Linked DNA regions of Homo sapiens: region 1 is linked to region 2. The links are contacts of gene promoters, found by promoter capture Hi-C in human tissues and cell types (Jung and others, 2019). All regions are on one chromosome and are shown on one strand. The core of a region is centred on a gene start or on the middle of the fragment in contact, and the rest is flanking DNA. Distances in the headings are between cores, read along the strand shown.

Evidence for each region. Contacts are between HindIII fragments. The study calls those that stand out against the background at their distance.
Region 1: a contact is called between the fragment with the promoter of TNFRSF8 here and the fragment with the promoter of VPS13D in region 2, in 1 of the 25 tissues and cell types used here (stomach).

The regions. Positions count from the first base shown.
Region 1 is chr1:12,060,761-12,065,925 of GRCh38, reverse strand. It overlaps TNFRSF8 (TNF receptor superfamily member 8), which reads right to left and starts at 2,623. Exons shown (of 15, transcript NM_001243.5): 1 at 2,265-2,623. The coding sequence starts at 2,327. RefSeq lists silencers at 2,231-2,360, 2,948-3,180. The HindIII fragment of the contact is 14,330 bases long and covers 1-5,165 here.
Region 2 is chr1:12,227,563-12,232,378 of GRCh38, reverse strand. It overlaps VPS13D (vacuolar protein sorting 13 homolog D), which reads right to left and starts at 2,349. Exons shown (of 70, transcript NM_015378.4): 1 at 2,259-2,349. RefSeq lists silencers at 2,290-2,458, 1,995-2,524 and an enhancer at 1,670-2,600. The HindIII fragment of the contact is 14,457 bases long and covers 1-4,816 here.

The DNA.
Region 1 (5,165 bases), core at 1,374-3,873, 170 kb after region 2:
AGTATTCTCTTCTCAGTCTCTTGTCTAGGAAAGAATCACAGACATTTATTTCCAAAAGCATCCATATAGGGCTGTGCACTGTAGTAGAGAACAAAGAAAGAAAGAAAGAACAATGGTGGCAACCTTAGCACCCATCCATCCAGGACATAAATAAACTATGAAACATCCCATTTGGCAAAAGATCACATAGCATTTTAAAAGATAGGCAGAGGATCTGTAAGTTTCAGCATGGAAAGCTCACCAAGATGCCTCATAGACATTATAAAGCCAAATGAAGAACCATATGTACTGTAGGGTATAGTATATGGAAAACTATATATATGTCTATTAAAACAATATAAATATGGACATGCATTTATAAAGGTCTGCAAAGGAAACACACCAAATCAATTATGGTGGTTATATCTTTGAAGGGATCAGGATGAGGCGGTGTCAAAAGACTTGGCTTTATCTGTAGCGTTTACAGTTTTGCTTTGAGAATATATTTATATATTCCTTGTGCAATTAAATATATAGTATTTTTATTTTAAAAAGGGTATGGGAGGCTGGGTGTGGTGGCTCATGCCTGTAACCCTAGCACTTTGGGAGGCCGAGACGGAAGGATCACTTGAGGTCAGGAGTTCGAGACCAGACTGACCAACATGGTGAAACCTCATCTTTACTAAAAATACAAAAATTAGCCGGGTGTGGTGGCACATGCCTGTAATCCCAGCTACCTGGGAGGCTGAGGCAGGAGAATCACTTGAATCCGGGAGGCAGAGGTTGCAGTGAGCCGAGATCGAGCATTGCACTCCAGCATGGGCAACAAGAGTGAGACTCAGTCTCAAAAAAAAAAAAAAAAAAAAAAGGTTTGGTATGAGAGTTCAGGCTGTAGTGAGTTATGATCGCACTCCAGCCTGGACAACAGAGTGAGACCCTGTCTCTAACATTAAAAAAAGTGGAGGGGGCTTCACTCTACAGAAAGGAAGCACATGAGCTTCAGCTGCCAAACCAAACCAGCAAAGCCCCCCAAGCACCTCTCACATCTCTTCCTTCCCTTCATCTCCCCAAGACCTTGGCACTCCAAACTCTTACCTTCCCCCAGGTGAGGGCTTGCAGAGCTGGGACAGGGTGTCTCTAGCCAGGGCTTTGTCCCCTCTGCCCTCTTGGGGGGAAAGGGGGAATACCTCACATTGCCCATTGGAAATGGAAGAGGGCATAGTTCCTCCTTTGCTGCATAGTTCCTCCCTCCTGCCTAAAGCCCACTCTGCCACTCTCCTCCCACTGCCTAAGGTTCAGATGACTAGAATTGATCCATAGCATGGAGTCCTCTCTTCCTGTAGGATTAAAGGGGAACTGGGTCTTCCCTCTCCCCCACCGTGACCCACCGCTGGACTAACAGCCTGCTCCTTCCTTTCCCTCTGTATCATTCAGCAGGCATCCACTCGCACCTACTATGGTTCTATGCAGGGGTCCACCGGGGTCCTGGGTCAGCTGAGGGCCTCTCTCTCCAGCAGCCCCTGGGCTCCGTGAAACACGCCTGGTTACTTTGCATTCTCCCCACAGTGATTAATTTGGCGCTGGCCACTGGTAAGTGCTCAGTTTTCCTAAAGCAGTCCCCAAACTCAATTCTGAGGCAACCCACCATAGACTTCAGCCCCACCACTGACCTTCTTCCAGGGGCAAATGCCCACCACGTGCTCCAGCGAATTCAATCCACAGCGTTGCTTTGCCGGACGCGGATTGGGGAAGCTAATCCCGGTGGTCCTGCACCCTCACCCCACTCTCACCCACAGCCAACTCTCCCTCCTTTCCTTGACCCTCCAGCCAGTGGCCAGCTTAGGAAGGGGGCAAACGGGACCGCGCACACAACAGGGTAGAGCGCGGACGACCAACCTCCCATGGCTAAGGGAGGCCCCATCTGGCCTGCCCACTACTCCCACGGCCTCACCTGATCTGCCCAGGACCCCGACGGGCCCGCAGGTAGGCGGGCTAAAGAGCGCCTCCCGCGTATGGCAGTGCTCTCAGTCCAATTCACACTGAATGAATGAATCAGTCCCAGCCATCGCGGGGTGAGAAGGAGGCGCCCCCCACCACTAGCCCTTCAGCCAGCCTCCCACCTGTGGGTGCTAGCATATTCCGGTGTTCCTGCTTGTCACCCGCGCCCCCTCACTCCAGCTGGGCAGGGAACGGGGTGAGGAGTGTCCTCCCTTGCGTCCCACGCACCCCACACTGTCCGGGCTCTGGACCGCCGGCACCTCCCCAGGCGCCCGTCACCCGCTTACCTGTGGGAAGGCTCGTAGCGCCCCCAGGAACAGCAGTCCCAGCGCGGCGAGGAGGACGCGCATCCCCGGGGCCGGACGTGAGGTGGCCTGGCGGCCGGCGCCCACCTGGGAAGCGGGGGAAGCGCGCGGCGCCCACGTGCGGTCCCGGCGGTTCTCAGCCGCGCGCGTGGACTTCAGGCTCCAGCACACTCCCGCCGCGGCCACCTAGTCCGCACCCAACGCACGCCGCGAAGTCACTTCAAAAGTGGTTGTTCCTCCGAGGTTTCAGCCTTAGTTCTCCCGTATCAAATTGGTTCCAGGAACACTTAGCTACAAGCAGCGAAGAAAAAAGGGGGCAAACACGTGCAGAGATGACTCAGGAAAAGGCACACTAGGAGACGCCTCCCTTAGCTGTTTGAATGGCCCGCCCCGGATTTGACGGAACTAGTGGTCCTGGCTCTAGGGAGTGTGCTGCCCGCCGCACCTGGGCTGCGGGGAGCGGAGGCAGGCAGCTTCTGGCCCTGGAGGTGGGGACTCACAGGATATTAGGAGGCCCCAAGGGGGTTCCAATGCCCCCACCTCCACTCCTGCCCCAAGAAACGGTGAAATGTGAGTAGTTTCCTGTCCCTGACACGATCAGCCAGGACCTTCTCCCATGCCCTTGAGATTCTTTGGAAGGGACAACTGGCCTAGGGAGACTGCAGAAAAAGCAACCATCACCCACCCATCCCCATTCATAAGCATTTGCTGTAAAATGAATCAGTGAGTGGATGATAAATTGGTGGATGGATGGATGGATGGATGGATGCATAGGTGGATGGATGGATGGATGGATGGATGGATGGATGGATGGATGGATGCATAAGTGGATGGATGGATGGATGGATGGATGGATGGATGGATGGATGGATGCATAGGTGGATGGATGGATGGATGGATGGATGGATGGATGGATGGATGGATGCATAAGTGGATGGATGGATGGATGGATGGATGGATGCATAAGTGGATGGATGGATGGATGGATGGATGGGTGAGCAGCAGGTGAGTGGGTAAATGGGTGGGTGGATGGGTGGATGGATGGATGCATAGATGGATGGATGGATGGATGCATAGGTGGATGGATGGATGGATGGATGGATGGATGGATGCATAAGTGGATGGATGGATGGATGGATGGATGGATGGATGGATGGATGGATGGATGCATAGGTGGATGGATGGATGGATGGATGGATGGATGGATGGATGGATGCATAAGTGGATGGATGGATGCATAAGTGGATGGATGGATGGATGGATGGATGGATGGATGGATGGATGGGTGAGCAGCAGGTGAGTGGGTAAATGGGTGGGTGGATGGGTGGATGGATGGATGCATAGATGGATGGATGGATGGATGCATAGGTGGATGGATGGATGGATGGATGAGCAGCAGGTGAGTGGGTAAATGGGTGGGTGGATTGGTAGATGGATGGACTGAATGTTGGAGGAACTGATGGATGGTATAGATCATTTTATTTCCCTGAGGCCTGACCCTTTAGAGTTTTCTTCCTGGAGGAGGCGGCTGGCACTCTCTCCTAACAGAAATGATTCAAGCCTCCTCGTACTATGTTCTCATTTGCTGGTGAATGATTTTCCCTTCCAGTGCTTCCCCATCCCCTGGGTTTTCTCTTTGCTCCTTTTATTCCACATTCCGTGTGTCTGTGTTGAGCATCTGCTGGGTGGGCCACAGGTCAAGGGTTCTTTTGACTGATTTTGTTTGGTTTTCAGATGTGAAAGCCAAGGCTCAGAAATAGGCAGGCAGTCCTAGGTGCTCTAATTAAGGGTGGGCCAGTTATTTTCCCTGAGCCCAGAATAGCCTAAGGATACTCTGGCTTCTGTGTCTACCTTGATCTGTCCTGCGAGGTACCAGGCCTCCATCAGGTGAAGGCCCTATAGGGTAGGAGTGATAACCTCCCACCAGGAACTTCCCAGCAAGGTCTCCACAACTGACCACTCCATGCTCAACCCTCCTGGGGCTGCTGGACTCCACTTGGGAAAACTGCTCCATCATGCCCCTTCCCAAGAGACCCACTTCCAGACTCTCCTCTGGATGTACCAGGCCCAGTATCTTAGGCTGTTTGAGCTGGGACTATGTTAAACAATGAGGTAAGCAATTATGGAAGTGACCTGCCTGTGATAATGACAGAACCAGACAGGGACAGGAGGAACGCAAGACACCTGCTTCCCAGTCCAGAGCTTTCTACTACAAAAGTAGAAAAGCTGGCAGCTGGGTGACATGGCTCATATCTGTAATCCCAACACTTTGGGAGGCCGAGGTTGGAGGATCACTTGAGCCCAGTTTGAGACCAGCCCGGGTAACGTAGCAAGACCTCATCTCTATTTTTTGTTTAATTAAAAAAGAGAGAGAGAGAAGGGCTGGTGTTTTGAATAAATAAATGAACAACAGCATCAAAATAGCTTGCACAAGGAGAAATACAAATAAAAATCAATTACAAGTTTTATAAGTTTAACCTTTTTAGTAATTAAAGAAATGCAAATTCAAGCAACCTTTGATAACCTTTTAGATCTATACAATCATCATTTTTTTTTTTTTGCTTTATAAAAACAATTTTGGTAAATCCAACCCCAAAGTTGTGGTGAGACCAGAATACTCATTCATACTCTGCTGGTAAATGTTACAACCCTTTTCAGAAAGCAGTATGGCAATTTTTAGCAAAAGCCAAAAAAAAAAAAAAATGTGTACTACTTGTGAGTGGCTCAGTAATTTCACCTCAGTGAAGAAAAACTAAGGAAATAATTTAACTGGAAAACTAGAAAAAGAAAAAAGAAAACTATACAGTAACATTTCCTTATATATTATTTATAAATTTTTGAAATACTCTGAGATTCACAACAAGAAATGATTACGGAAATTGT
Region 2 (4,816 bases), core at 1,100-3,599:
AAGATACACCTATCCCAACTGAGAGGCTGCCATCCAACAACTACCTGAAGCACAAGGCCTCCACAAGAATGAATTCAATCTCCTGGAAAAACTGGCTTTTGTTTGTCAACAATATCTTGTACTTCCAGAGAAGATTAACTTTTATTGGTCAACAGTGACAGCAAAAAGAAAAAAACAGCATTTGGTAAAATATTTGACCAATTTCTTTCCAAAGATTTTTTTTTCTGCAAATGGAATATAAAGATATTTTTTAAGGGTAGAGTTACATAAAACTAATTATTAGCTACATTTGTTTAAAGAAGATGTTATAAGAACAATTTTTTAAAAAAAATGCTCAACAGTCTGAATAAAAGAAACATTTCTCTATTGTAACTTTTTTTTCTGGAGACAGAGTGTTGCTCCCTCGCCCAGGCTGGAGTGCAGTGACGGGATCTCGGATCTCGGCTCACTGCAACCGCCATCTCCTGGGTTCAAGCGATTCTCCTACCTCTGCCTCCTGAGTAGCTGGGATTACAGGCACCTGCCACCATCCCCGGCTAAGTTTTGTATTTTTGGTAGAGACAGGGTTTCATCATGTTGGCCAGGCTGGTCTGAAATCCTGACCTTAAGCGATCTGCCCACTTTGGCCTCCCAAAGTGCTGGGATTACAGGCGTGAGCCACCGTGCCCGGCCACTATTATAACTTGAAAGGAGTAAATTTGTGAAAACCAAATGTGAAACTGACTAATCTTACTATGGGGACTCCAAACAAATTTGAGCAAGAAGCCAAGGTCAGAGTACTCTTTATTTTTGTAGTTATTGCCACTAATTTCGGCCCTAAATGCCAACTCTGAGTGCCAATTACCAATTATCTCCAAATCAAGGGAAACAACTGTCAGTTTGTAAACAAGTTCAGGCCCTACCCTACTTGCCCTAAACGGAAAAGAATGCAAAGCACAGATTTTAAAAGCATGAGTGATTAGCATTGTGAGGCAACCTGGTCAGTAACATTGAGGCCCAAACCAGAAAGCACCCATTATTTGCTCTGCTAAGCATCTAGACCGTGCTTGAGGCCACTTCAAGGATTCCCTGAAGGAATTCAGTGTCAGCAAGGGCCGCCAGACTGGCCAGAGTCCCAAAGTGTTTACACTCCGGTCCATCAGGACTTCTAGGCAGCTGCCTGGCACTGGCACTAACCCCCACCTGGGCTCCCCTACCCAGTGGGGCGGGTGACAGTAGGGATCAGTGCTGAGCCCACGGGCGGGCAGACAGCCGGGCATGACCTTGAGCCAGGCCCCTCCCCTGAGGAGCGGCCAGACCGGGAATAGGAAGGACTGGCAACCGGACCTGGGCGTCCCTCCCCGAGGCGGCCAGGGCTGAACGCTGCCGGCGCCAGGGAGCTCCAAAACCGGGGCGGGGACGGCTGTGCGACCGGTGGCCCCACAGGAACGGCACTGCCCGGAAGGCGACGCTCCCACAACCCTCCCGCCCCCAGCTCTCGGAACCCTCAGCCCCCTCCAGGGGACAGAGACCCCACCACCCAAGTAAAACCTGGAGGGAACGGCGCCGGGATCCCATACCTAGGAGGAGTGGCTGGGCCAGGGCGTGACCCTGGGGGGTAAAAGGTAAAGAGAGGTTTTAGGCCTGATGTCTGGCATCCCACACCTAGGAGGAGTGGCTGGGCCAGGGCGTGACCCTGGGGGGCAAAAGGTAAAGAGAGGTTTTAGGCCTGATGTCTCCACGCGAGAGTGTGACCTCGGGTGGCTGATTAAGGGAGGTGGCTAAGGCATTCTAGAGAACTGACACCCCACTCTTCGGCGTAATGTGGGGGGCTCGCACACTGGGGTCCTGCATTGAGACCAAGGCTCAGGCGGACAGGCGCGGACTGACACCCCCCAATTCCAGGGCGCCAGGCTGCTGGGACCCCGGAAAGTGTGCCGGGGTCCAGCGGGGGCTCGGGCTCCCCAGGACACGGACGTCGGGGTTCCCAGAGGTTCAGCCAGCCCCGAGCCTGTGCTTGGGGAGCTCGCGGGGACTCGGACGCAGGGGTCCCCGGAGGTGGCGGGCTTGGGGCCCGGGGGGAGCAGACGCCCAGGGTTACCCCGAGGGGCTCAGACCGAGGCCGGACGACGGGGCCCCCAGGCTCCTAGCATCGCTCTCCCCAGGGTGGGCCCGGGCCCCCATGTCCAGGCGGAGCCCTAGCGGCGGCCCGCGGGTCCGCGCCGGCCCTGCAGTTCCCGACCCTGGCCCCGCCCGGCACGGAGCCGCTCGGCCCCTACCTGTCGGTGTCCCGGGCCGCCCGCCCCAGCCCGGCGCTGCGCGGCGTTTCCTCCCCGCCGCTCCTCAATGGCGCAGGCCCGCGGCGCTCAGGCCGGCCCCGACCCGACCAATCGAGCGGCCGACGCGCCGGTGCCTGGCCAGCCGAGCGCCGAGTTATCGAGGAGGCGCCCCCTGGCGCCGGCGGCCGCTCCTGCAGTGGTGCGGGCCCCTCCAGGGTTCGCGGACACTGGGGCTTATTTTATAGGTGGGGAAATTGAGTCCCAGGGGAGGGCAGGGCCACAAATGACTCTGGTTCAGACAGCATGGGAACCCAGGATTCTTCCCACCTACAACCACCCTGCCTTCCATCCAAGCGAAAGGTGCGATTGGCCGTCCGTCTGGCCCACTCACCCACAGTCCGTTCCCCACTTCGCAGCCACAGGGGCCTGTTAATTCAGACCCTGCCCTTCCCTGCTTAAAACGGCGTCCCCACCGTACTTCAGTTAAAACCCACCTCCTTACAGAGCTGCCACCAAGGTCCCACTGGATCTGGTCCCTTCCCATTTCAGCCACTTTTTCCCCGGCCGACTCTGCCTCAGCATCCTTCAGTTTCTGCCCCAGGAACTGTACCTTTGCCGTTGTCTCTACCTAGGACCCTTCTCCTCAGACCAATAGAAACACAATGCCAGCCACATAGGCAATCCACATTTACTAGCTAGTACATTTTTTTTAAACGAAAAAGAAGAAAATGAACTTCATTTTAATATATTTAATCCAATATGTTCAAAATATGATCATCTCAACATGTCGCCAAAAGAAAAAATTACTAATACAATATGTTAACTTTTTTATAGTAAGTTTTTGAAATTCGGGTATATTTTACATTTACTGCGCATCTCAGTACAAACTAGCCAGAATTCCAGTGCTCAATACCCTCTTGTGGCCAATCCAGAGCTACAGAATAGCTCTGGATATTCGTATAGCTGACTCCCTCTGGCTTCAAATATTCCACTCAGAGAGGACTTGTGCCTATCTACGGTTCCATTATGAGCTGGGCACAGTGGCTCATGCCTGTAATCCCAGCACTTCAGGAGGCTGAGGCGGGCGGATCACTGAAGTCAGGAGTTTGAGACCAGCCTGGCCAACATAGTGAAACCCCATCTCTACTAAAACTACAAAAATTAGCCGGGCGTGGTAGTGCACACCTGTAGTCCCAGCTACTGGGGAAGCTGAGGCAGGAGAATCACTTGAACCCGGGAGGCGGAGGTTGCAGTCAGCCGAGATCACCCCTCTGCACTCCAGACAGAGTGAGACTCCCTCTCAAAAATGAAAATAAAAATAAAGTTCCATTATCCATTACCCTGTTGTATTTTATTCATGGAACCTAATACTCCCTGAGATTATCTTGTTTGTTTATACATATGTTGTTCTTTCCCCAGTACCTTGAAAACAGAGATTTTATCCCTTTCACAGTGTTTCTTCAACACCTAGACATTGCCTAGCACAGAAAAGACTCAATGAGTGTGTATGAATGAACAGCTGAACACTTCCTCCTTGCATTATCACAAGAAGGGCAAGAGGGAGACCTCAGGCTCATATAAATTAGAAGATGCAGGAAGCAGAACGGCAAGGTTACAATCATGTATTTACCATAATAATTACCAACCCTCATGATGCTAAGCTAATGAGGGTGCATGTTGGGCTGACTCACTCCTGAGCAAGACTGGGGTTCCTGTATGGTGGGATCAACCTCTCAGAATCTGGATGCTGGGTCTCCTCTGGGGCTGAGGTTTGGGAGTAAAACCTGGAACTCCACAGACAGAAGGAGGAAGGAAGGCAGTCCTTCAGAGGTGAAGGACCTCGAAGTCCAGATCACCTAGCACAGACAATTGGCTGTACCTGGGAAGCTTGTTAGAAATGCACATGGCCCAGGCCAGGCGCGGTGGCTCATGCCTGTAATCTCAGCACTTTGGGAGGCAGATGTGGGTGGATCACCTGAGGTCAGGAGTTCAGGACCAGCCTGACCAACTTGGCAAAACCCCATCTCTACTAAAAATACAAAAATTAGCCGGGCATGGTCACAGGTGCCTGTAATCCCAGCTACTCTCCTGGCTAAGGCAGGAGAATTGCTTGAACCCAGGAGGCAGAGGTTGCAGTGAGCCGAGATCTCGCCATTGCACTCCAGCCTCGGCAACAGAGCAAGACTCCATCTCAAAAAAAATCCAAAAAAATACTGCACATGGCCTGGCACCGTGGCTCACACCAGTAATCCTAGCACTTTGGGAGGCCAAGGCAGTGGGGGGGATTTTTTGAGGCCAGGAATTCAAGACCAGCCTGTGCAACATAAGGAGACCCCAATCTCTACAAAAAATTATAAATGAAAAAATTAGCTGGGCACGGTGGCACATGCCTGTACTCCCAACTACTGGGAGGAGGATTGCTTGAGCCCATGAGTTCAAGGTTACAGTGAGCAATGATCATGCCTGTGCACTCCAACCTGCGCAACAGAGACCCTGTCTCAAAAATGCAAATTCCTGGGCACCATTGATTCGACCAGTATTACTGAAAGTCTTCGTGC